3 separate regions of the Homo sapiens genome follow, and all the other regions are linked to region 1. Evidence: promoter capture Hi-C in human tissues and cell types (Jung and others, 2019). All regions are on one chromosome and are shown on one strand. The core of a region is centred on a gene start or on the middle of the fragment in contact, and the rest is flanking DNA. Distances in the headings are between cores, read along the strand shown. Region 1 holds the start of SLC1A3 (solute carrier family 1 member 3). Region 2 has its middle 58 kb from the start of SLC1A3. Region 3 overlaps SLC1A3 (solute carrier family 1 member 3).

Region 1 (3,485 bases), core at 303-2,802:
TGTTTTAACACAAAAGATTGAAAAGCGTTTTGTTTCACATCCTAATATTATTCCACCCACTTAAAAAGAGTTACTTAATATTGACTCTGTATTAGGTATAAGACAAGTTCTTGCCCTCAAAGAACTTATAATTTAGTTGAGAAACCAAAACTTAACATGAGCTTAAAAAGAAGGATGCAGTACAAAACATGGTATAATTAAGTGCTAAACAATGTAGTATAGATGCTCAGTGACCTAGGAGATCAGAGGAAGGGAAGGGTCACTGAGGGCTGGGAATGTCAAAAGCATGTACTTTCAGTAAGTTCTTAAAATGATAGCATGTTAGAAAGCTGTTATAATTGCTGCTGATTTGTAATTTTAAAGCATTGACATGATTCACCATTGCTTTCCAACCAGTAGCTGTTTAAAAGGACATACAGTTGAGGGTGAAAGGAGATATTTCTTTATGATCTCCAGAGATTTGTATTGAGGGGAAAAAAGACATACTTTCTTGTTGAATAATAGACCAAGAATTGAGCATATTTTGCATGGGGAATATTAAATTCAGTGAACAAGAATCCAAACCTCAGGCTGTGATTCTGGTATAAATTTTTGTTTCTAATGAACCATTTTCTTCCTTCTAAAGAAGATTTAAGTTTTGGGAATAAGTCACCTCAAAAAAATTTTTTTTTATTTTCTAATATCTATTTTCACAATTTATTTTTCTTTTAAGAAAAGTGGACTAGAAGCTCAAGTTACCTTCTCAAGGCAATGAGAATTTTTTAGCTCTAAAAAAGTTGTGTGTGGTAGGGAGAACATTTAGCATCCTTTAAAATGGAGACATCTGAACAGCAACCTATCTTTTGAATCACCAAATCTCAAGTGTACTTTGCACTCTTGGTCTTAAAATGCTTTTCATTTTCTAGTTTGGCAAAAATTCCAGTCTCTTTACATTTGCTACCTTTTCCGTCTTTGCAACACAGGCAGTGTGAGCTAAATTAGGTTTGTTAAAATGAAGTTTTGAAGTTTCAACTGCTGAAATAGAGGCATGTCCCTAACTTTAGACAAATTTAGAGAATCGTAGTAAGCATTATTTTTTTTCTACATACTTGTCTGCATTCAGTGTCTTCCCAAGAAACGTCAGTTAATTCCCCGATTCGAAAAAGGAACTTTCTCGTAACAGTTGTACAACCAGGCTAAAGAGCACACCCTCGTCTTCCCTGAAAGGGAGGAAACATGCAATAATGTGAGGTAATTAAATTTAGCCTTAGAAAAGTCTTTGAAACGTTCTAATCAAGACTTTCAGCTTTCCGATTGTGTGCGCTTTATTTTTCAATTCTTCCTAGTCCCGGTTTTGCATTTCTAATGACAGTGAACTGACAAAGCGTGAAAGTGGTCTAAGGAGCAAAACAAAGCCAGCAAGCCTGCTTCTGGTGTGCCAAGATTAATCAATATTCCAGAAACCTCGGGGTTTCCCCCTCCTCCCTGTGCGGTTTCCATTCCCCACTCCTCCTTTCCCGGGCACAGACTCCTCCCCTTTTCTTAAGTTGCCCTGATAGTAACTTGCAGTTTCAGAGCACATGCACACTGTCAGGGCTAGCCTGCCTGCTTACGCGCGCTGCGGATTGTTGCTCCGTTGTACCTGCTGGGGAATTCACCTCGTTACTGCTTGATATCTTCCACCCCTTACAAAATCAGAAAAGGTAAGTGTCACATTCTGTGTTCCTGCTGGGTTTAATTTCTCCTTTCACTTCTCTGCCGATGTATTTTGCCTTCCAAGCAGAGGAGTAGCCTGAATCAAGGCTAGCCATTTTGGTAGATAAAGTCCTTGTTAGTCATCTCACGTCGTGAGAGTGTGGTGTCTGTTTATGCCGGGTCCGCTGTTAATTCGGAGTTGAGTCATTCGGGGTGGATTGGGGGCAGATTGTGGCGCGAGATCTAGAAAAGGATCAAGGTTGAGCGGATCTGCTTAAAAGTGACTGGTAAGAGGAATCAGAGCTATTAGTTTAAAAAAAAAAAAAATCTGGTCTCTCCTATTTCCCGGTCTTCACTTCTCCCTAAGCATTTAATCCAGTGTGAAGTCTTAAACAAATTAGAAGTCTTAGTATCACTGACCCCAACTTGCAATTTTATTTAAAAGGCAAACTGTTAAGACAAGTCTTTTTTTTTCCTGCACTGGGATTGCGAGAAGTCATTTGCGAGGAGTCCTTTGGTTTCCAGTTACCTCCCCCACAGGCGCACACGCTGGCTGCTTGCGTTGGCAGCGACACACATCCATGGTACGGCTGGTTTTCACTCGGATTGATTATGGGAAGGGCTATGGATTAGAGCTCCTGTAAAGCACCAGGAGGAATCCCTTGATTTTTCAGAACAGCTGATTTCCACCAGGAAAGAGATTTACTGAAATGTAGTTAAATAGCGTGAGTGCTTTAAAGAAACCAGAAACCACAAGCTGTAATGTTTGGAATGAAAATTGGTTTCATCTCATCTGTTCTAGAAATCCTAAATTTTAAAACGCTAAAAAGTCAGCGATAGTTTCCTCGGAAGATTCCAGCATGTGTGTCACAAAGAAAAACACTACTTCATACTTCTACTTGTGATAAACGAAGCTGAATTGTGATTTCAGATGATTTATAGATGTGCCCAGAGCACTTTGCTTATTTCATGGAAAAAAAATGAAAAAATTACCCTGTAAAATAGTCACATGTATTTCCCATGTACTGTGGGCACTTGTGTTCTTTTTATGACCATATTTACTAGTAGATATTATTATATTTTTTTCTTAATGAAGAAAATAGCTGGTTACTTTACTGCATGTAACAGAGACAACTCCCACCTATCAGTATCTTAATTATTTTTATTGACCTGGTTATGCTTTCAACCATGTATACAGCATAATTTGTCAAGTAATGATTGAATACTTTCTGTGCATTCAGTTCAATTGGACATTTACTGATTGTGTACGTTGTGCAAGGCATCAGCTGGGTTCTGCGGGGGAGGGTGGGAATAGGGGTTCTCAGTCAGATCTAGCTCTGAAGAACCCTTTTATAGCCTCATTGGAAGGGGAAGGACGGATTTTTAAAAAGAAAATAGAATATATTCCGAATTTATGCACATTTCTCACACGTGGTCCACTAAAATATGCACACTGCAACCTTGAGGTCTGGTATTGTGGCTCTCCAGTCCTTGATTCCTGCTGAGATTATGCAATTTGCCAAGAGCTTGCCTGGTGTGGAGCAGCACTGATTTCTCACCCCTGGAGGCTATAACTCATGTCTCTTTTTCTCCCATTCTAGTTGTGTTTTCTAATACCAAAGAGGAGGTTTGGCTTTCTGTGGGTGATTCCCAGACACTGAAGTGCAAAGAAGAGACCCTCCTAGAAAAGTAAAATATGACTAAAAGCAATGGAGAAGAGCCCAAGATGGGGGGCAGGATGGAGAGATTCCAGCAGGGAGTCCGTAAACGCACACTTTTGGCCAAGAAGAAAGTGCAGAACATTACAAAGG
Region 2 (3,485 bases), core at 711-3,210, 58 kb before region 1:
CCTCTTTATTCACTGACTTCTATCTCCCCTTGTTTAGGGGTTTCCCCAAGAGCATAATTCTTCCCACACTTCTGGGTCATGTTTACACACAATCAAGAAAATTTCCGTGGTGTTGAAGAAGGCCTACAGGCAGTAAAGTGAGAAATGCAGGTCCTTGTGGAAGGAAGCTGTCAGCATGCCAGGAACTGTCTGCAGCTATAGGTATGCTCACGTTAAGTGAAGGCAATATGCGGTGAGATAGTAGAAGCATCAGCTATAAATAAGAAATGTCATAAGCCTATGCTATAATAGAGAAAATAAAAGTTTGGACAAAGCTTCCCAAGCATAGGCAAGGTTAAAAGAAATTAAATAGAATCTATGAATAGAAACAAGAAGAAGAAGATAAAGGAATGTAGCATGCAAAAGACAAACGAAAGACTAAAATTGGAATAGGGCTCAAGAAACAGGAGAATATTATTTTACAATGTCTCTATAGAATAACTTTATTAAGAATATTAATTTGACCAGGAACAGTGGCTCACACCTGTAATCCCAGCACTTTGGGAGGCTAAGGCAGGCGGATCACAAGGTCAAGAGATCCAGACCATCCTGGCCAACACGGTGAAACCCCATCTCTACTAAAAATACAAAAATTAGCTGGGCGTGGTGGCACATGCCTGTAGTCCCAGCTACTCGGGAGGCTGAGGCAGGAGAATCACTTGAACCCGGGAGGCAGAGGTTGCAGTGAGCCGAGACTGCGCCACTGCACTCCAGCCTGGCCACAGAGTGAAACTTTGTCTCAAAAAAAAAAATTAATTCAATATAAAAAGAATGCAAAGGCAAGAACATATAACAACATGGAGATGGGAAAGGAGATGGAGAATGAAAAAAAGCATATTGAGAATACCAAAAACCTCTCACCATTATATATCCCATAAGTAACCTAGATACGGCAAGGAATAAAACAGATAAGGCTAAATATTAAATCAATGATGTGGAGGAATATCTTAAGATAAAAAGAGTGAATACATAATAAAAATAAAAGAAATGAAATGAATGAAGGTAAAATAATAGAGAACAAAGACAGTTCAACTTAAATGTAGGTGGTGTCCTTGAAGTAAAAAATAAAATGGATTTAGAGGGGGAAAATGTATTTAGAGATATAAAATTACCCTGAAATGAATAAAGAACAGAATCTAAAAACTTGAAAGAGCACACTAAGTATCAAGTAAAAATGATATAATGTACTAAATACCACGACGTAGTCTGATTAAACTGTTAAACTTTAGAAATAAAGGAATCTGTATGTGTACTATATTTCATAATAAAATATATAAATTTAAAAATAAAGGAAGAAATCCAGGCAGAAATTTAAAAGTCATAAATAGGGTAAAAATGCAGGATGACTTATCCACAGAAAATTTAATTCCAGAAGACATTGGAATAACATATACCAGATTCTGAGAAAAAGAAAAGATCTACCCATACATGTTGTCTGGTATAAAAACCACAGGTAAACATTTTTAAACAAAAATCATACTTTCTTAAAACACATTTTGAAAAAACTATTTAACGATGAAATCCAGTCACACAAGCAAGGAATCAAAACAAAAGAGTGTAGGAATCTAAAATGGTAAAATCAATGTAAAAGACTGAATCTATTGAAAGTAGCTCTAAGCAGCCAGAGAAATAATTTCATCTCAAGCAAAACATAAGTATAGACTGAACAATCAAACAAAAAAACCAGTAAGGGTATAATGGGGCTGAAAAACACTATAAATCAATCTGACATAACTAATATTTATAGAACACTATATCCAACAACTACAGAATACACACTCTTTTCAGTGCATATGGAATGTTTATGAAGACCACACACTAGGGTATAAAATAAATCTCAAGAAAATGAAATGTATTGAAATTATAGAGTAATATAATTTTGTTGCATATGTGACCACAAGGCAATAATTAGAAACCAACAACAGGAAAATATCTAAAAATATGCAAATGTTTGGAACTAACAATATACTTCTAAATAACCCATAGGTAAAAGAATATGTCACAATAGAAATTAGAAAATATTTTGAACTCAATGAAAATGAAAGAACAACAAAGCAAATTTTGTGAGATGAAGCTAAAACAGCGTATAGGAAGAAATTTATGGAATTTTAATTGTTTAAACAATCATAAAAGAAGCTCTAAAGTCAATGAACAAAGCTTTGACTTGAAGCTAAGAAAAAGAAGAGCAAATTAAACCCAAAGTAGAAGAAAGAAAATATTAAAGTTAGGAGCTAAAGTCAGTAAAGTTGAAAACAGAAAAACTGTACATAAAAATCAATTAAAAACAAAACCTGTTTATTTGAAAAAGTAAAATTGATAACCTTCTAGCTAGAGATATTACATCCATTAAAAAGATAATAAAGGGCCAGAAGCGGTGCCTCATGCCTATAATCCCAGCAGTTTGGGAAGCCAAGATGGGAGGATCACTTGAGCCCAGGAGTTTGAGACCAACGTGAGCAACCTAGTGAGACGCCATCTCTACAAAAAATTTAAAAATTACCCAGTTGTGGAGGTGCATGCCTGTAGTCCCAGCTATTTGGCAGGCTGAGGTGGGAGAATCACTTGAGCCTGGGAGGTTAAGGCTGCCGTGAGCCTCACATCACTACACTGCAACCTGAGTGACAGAGCAAGACACTGTCTTAAAAAAAAGTGACAATAAAGGCATATTACAAACAATTTGATCCCATAAATTTGACAAAAGAGATGAGATTTTTAAAAATTCTTTGAAAAAAACAAACTACTAAAACCTAGTCAAGAAAAAGTAAAAATCAAATAATCCTCTATTAAAAATTAAATTTATAATTTAAAAGCTTCCTACAAAGAAAATTTCAGGCCCAGCTGGTTTCATAGACAAATTCTATCAAACACTTAAGGAAAAAATAATATCAATTCTACACAAAGTCTTTCAAATAAATTAAAGAAGTGGAAATATTTCTTACTCAACTCATTCCATAATGCTAGGATTTCTTGGATACCAAAATTAGACAGACATTATAAGGGGGAAAAAGCCTACATATCAATGTTTCACACTAATATATACTCAAAAACCCTGAATAAAAGTTTAGCAAAATAATACAACAATATATAATAAGGAGAATATATGATAACCAAATGATTTTCATCTCAGGAATGCAAGGTTTGCTTAACATTATTATAATATTGTCAATCAATGTGATATTGCTTAGAACAAAGGAAAAACTATTGATTCTAATAAATGCAGGAAAAGCATTTAATAAAAATCCAACATCCATTTATTATAAAAATTTTCAGGAATCTAGGAAACAATGGAAGTGTTTTCATCTAATAAAGAACATTGAAAAACCTACAGCTGACATCATCCCTAAAAGCAGACTTTCGTCCTTACATCAGGAAGAAGGCAAGGATACCCTTTCTAACCATGTTCATTCAGTATTATACTAGACTTCTTAGCCAGTGTGATCAAGCAA
Region 3 (3,485 bases), core at 588-3,087, 50 kb after region 1:
AATGTTTTACCTTTCCCCCCATTCGAAAGTTATTCCACACACATTCATGAAGCATTTTACAAATGCTGCAGCCTCCCTAAGACTGGATGCTGATAACACTTCTAAAGGGGCACAGACTCCATAAGACTGTGGATGCCGATACACTTCTCAAGAGGCACCATTTCCTTTCCCCTAGCAAGCCTTGTATAGCTCTGTCCCCTCACTGGATACACAGAAAACAGTCTTGACCGAGCATCTGCCATATGTCTTCATGCTACCTTCCCTTCCTTGTCCCCATTGCATGTGTGCTCTGCGTCATGCAGGGCTGCTATTGTCTAGCTGAGGTTGTTAATTCATTCAGTATTGAGGCCCTCCAGTTAGCTGTGCTAGGTGCCTAAGAAGGAAGTCACAGCACTGTTAACCATAGACTCCAGGTCCTACATCTCCTTCCTCTGCAGAGTGAGGAGATGTTTGCATCTGAAAAGGTAAACAGGGGCCAGCTGAGTGGTGCAGGGGACATTCGCTCTGGCTGCATTTATTTGTAGTAATTCCTGTTTGGTTCTTAAGAACACAAACTTCTGGAGCTACCAGTTGCAGCATTGACTAGCTGTGGGAGAAGTCACTTTGGCATTCAGGGCTTGTTTATGGAGTGGAAATAATAGTAGTGACAGTAATAAACATGTTTGTTGTATGTGCCTCCTGGGGGACCTGGAGGTGAGCTCACGGGGAATCATGGCTGTGAGTGTGGTCTATGTGAATCTATAGGCATTGGCTAATGTCAGTGACTACTACACTCTGAGATTCTGCTTTAATATTATAAACACCAACTTCAAAAGCCCTTTTGGCTTCTTTGCCGGAGAGTATCAGGTGTAAGGTCTCTCTTTGCACTTGCATCTAGTGTCTGCCTAGAGAGGATCATTTCCTCAGCCTCGGCTTGGTCAAATGATGGCATTCTCACTGGCTGTGCCCTGGCTTTGTCACTAATTGTTAGGCAGTTTCAGAGATCGTGTTGCATGTTACTTCACCCCGTTTCTGCTGACTGGCTGCCTCCTGAGTGCTGCTTACTGCAGTTCATAGATGTTTCTGAAAACTGCTTATGGGTGACCCTGAGTAAACAATTAAAAGTCACTGTATTTTCTATGTTAGAATTAAAAAATCTACCTTGCCAAGAAAGCTTGTGACCTTGTAAAGATTGGGAAAACTCCACTTGTCATAAACTTAACCAGTTTCCAACTCATGCACTAAAGCAAAGCTTTAAGCCACTTTGCCTTATCAAAAGGCCATGAAACTTTCATTCTGTCCTAGCCTCACCACTAACTAGTGGTGTCATTTTATACATCATCAAGCCTTTTGGGTTCCTTGACCTCACTCACCAGACCTGGAGGGCCCCGGCCAGTTTTAGGCATTTAATTTTGACTTTTTGATGACAGAATGGTTTCCAAGGGTGTTTGAGATTCCCTGTGGAATTATGTTCACTACAATCAAGTTTCCATTGCATTAAGATGAGTGCAAGTTAGAGGAAACACATCACAGGGTTTACTTAGCCTGGAACAGAGCTGGACGCATGATTGCTCCTCAGTAATCAGATAAATAAGATGTGATTTACATCAGAAGCTGTAAATGACTGAGAACATTGGTGTTGCAGTAAAGATTATACTTATTCTACCTTAAAGTACTAAAATCCTAATCTTGATTAAAGGTTAATTCTATAATTGGTCAGTGACTTTTTAATTTTACCTGCCATAATAATTGCTAGCAACTACTGGGTAAAAAAAATATGCTGGTTATTAAACATATGTACTTGTTATTCCTTCTGAAAGGTCATTGTTATTATTCCCATTTTATAGATCAAGAAACTAGGTCTCAGAGAGGTTGCATAATGTCTCAGGGTCTCCCTGCTAGCAAGGGGCTGAGCTTGAATTCAAACTCAAATCTACGTGTCACTAAAGCCCCCTCTCTCTAGAGCCATGTAACCCCTGATGTGGTATGTGGCCTCTAGATTAGTACTGGATCAGTTTATAATTTTAAAGTGCATTTGTTCCCTTAAGTCTTTTCTCCACATGAGCTAAATATTTTTCATAATTTTTCTGTACTCGTGTACTTAGCCCTTTACATCATGTGTGGTTGAACATTCTATTATTTGGTGAGACTATGACTGTCTAATTGGTCAGTGAGAATCTGACTTGTCTAGCAACAAAAGAACTCCTTGAGAAGAGGAGCTACTATTTGTACATTTGCATTGCAGCCCTGGTTGCAGTGATGAACTCTTGCTATAGTATGTTACAAAATTATGTCATTGATTTGTAGATTGAGTATAGTTGCTTAATTATTCTCACCTGCTGAATTTGCAGAATTTGTCATTCATCATTCATTCAACAAAGCTATACTGAGTTCCTGCAGTGTTAGTCACTGGGCATATAGTAATCAATGTAAACCATCGTGTATTACTATACTTCAAGGGCTGTGACCTGGAAAATCACTGATATGTTATTCCAGAATGAATAAAAGTGAAGTTGAACTTAAGGCATATACTTTAAAAGAATGGACTTTTTAATAATCATTGTAGCACAACCAGAAATTTTTGCTAATGAATTATCCAATTAACTTTTCTGAAGCCTAAAATAATTATGCTGTTATTTCTTTTGCATATGAATAACTTCTGTTTGTATTGATCCTTGATGCATTTACATCTCTGCCCAAATGATATGACATTCCTATCTAGAGGGGAAGGATATTTATTAGCTTATACTTCTCTAGATTGATACTACTGATTCTTTTAGGAAAACAGTAATTCCTGAAGTTACAAAGTCAGGCTAACAGTATTCCCACAAAACATCTTGTAATAGCTTCATGTGCTATAGGGAATTTTTTTGTTTAAAAAGTGCTCCCTTTCTATAATCACTTTTTGGTTGTGGAATTCCTGAAACAATTTGTTTTGGTTATTCTGAAAAATTCTGAATCTTCCCTAATACCTTTAGTAATAAAATAGGACCTGATAAAAATCACGAAGTGTCTTTGAATCTGGCTGAATATCTAGACTTAATGAGTGTTTAAGGCTCCATGTCAACCTGCAAAGATACCTGGTGAAGCACCCTTATGTACTTTTCTAAAAAAACCCTGCCCTGTTCCATACTTTAATCAACGACTCAACAACATAGAAGTCATCTACATAGTGTTTTCATACGACATAAGCCCAAAAAGGATGGCTTCCACTGCATATGCCTGTGATCATGATTCATAATGATTTCAATAGGCTGCAATGCTGGATGGAAACCAACATGATGAAGTTGAGCAAGGAATAAGTGTACATTTCTGCTTTTAGATTCAAAAGGCAATTGCGCAATTACAGGATGGGGAACAACTGAGCTTGGCAGCAGTTCATGTGACTAAAGGCTTAATGTGAACCAACAGTAGGAAGTGGTGGCTAAAAAAGAATGAATGTAGCCGTGTGCTTCCTCAGTAGAAATATTAATAGTCACTGTACTCTGCGCTGACCGCACTGCATT

Evidence for each region. The method cuts DNA at HindIII sites, captures the fragments that hold promoters and counts their contacts. A contact is called where the count stands out against the background at its distance.
Region 2: a contact is called between a fragment that was not itself captured here and the fragment with the promoter of SLC1A3 in region 1, in 1 of the 25 tissues and cell types used here (aorta).
Region 3: a contact is called between a fragment that was not itself captured here and the fragment with the promoter of SLC1A3 in region 1, in 1 of the 25 tissues and cell types used here (hippocampus).

The regions. Positions count from the first base shown.
Region 1 is chr5:36,605,054-36,608,538 of GRCh38, forward strand. SLC1A3 (solute carrier family 1 member 3) reads left to right here and starts at 1,553. Exons shown (of 10, transcript NM_004172.5): 1 at 1,553-1,682; 2 at 3,276-3,485. The coding sequence starts at 3,371. RefSeq lists an enhancer at 1,660-1,759. The HindIII fragment of the contact is 11,728 bases long and covers 1-3,485 here.
Region 2 is chr5:36,546,747-36,550,231 of GRCh38, forward strand. No RefSeq gene overlaps it. Among named protein-coding and RNA genes, the nearest start is that of SLC1A3, 58 kb to the right of the region's middle. The HindIII fragment of the contact is 4,082 bases long and covers 1-3,485 here.
Region 3 is chr5:36,654,417-36,657,901 of GRCh38, forward strand. The region is part of intron 3 of SLC1A3 (solute carrier family 1 member 3); the gene reads left to right. Among named protein-coding and RNA genes, the nearest start is that of SLC1A3, 50 kb to the left of the region's middle. The HindIII fragment of the contact is 6,004 bases long and covers 1-3,485 here.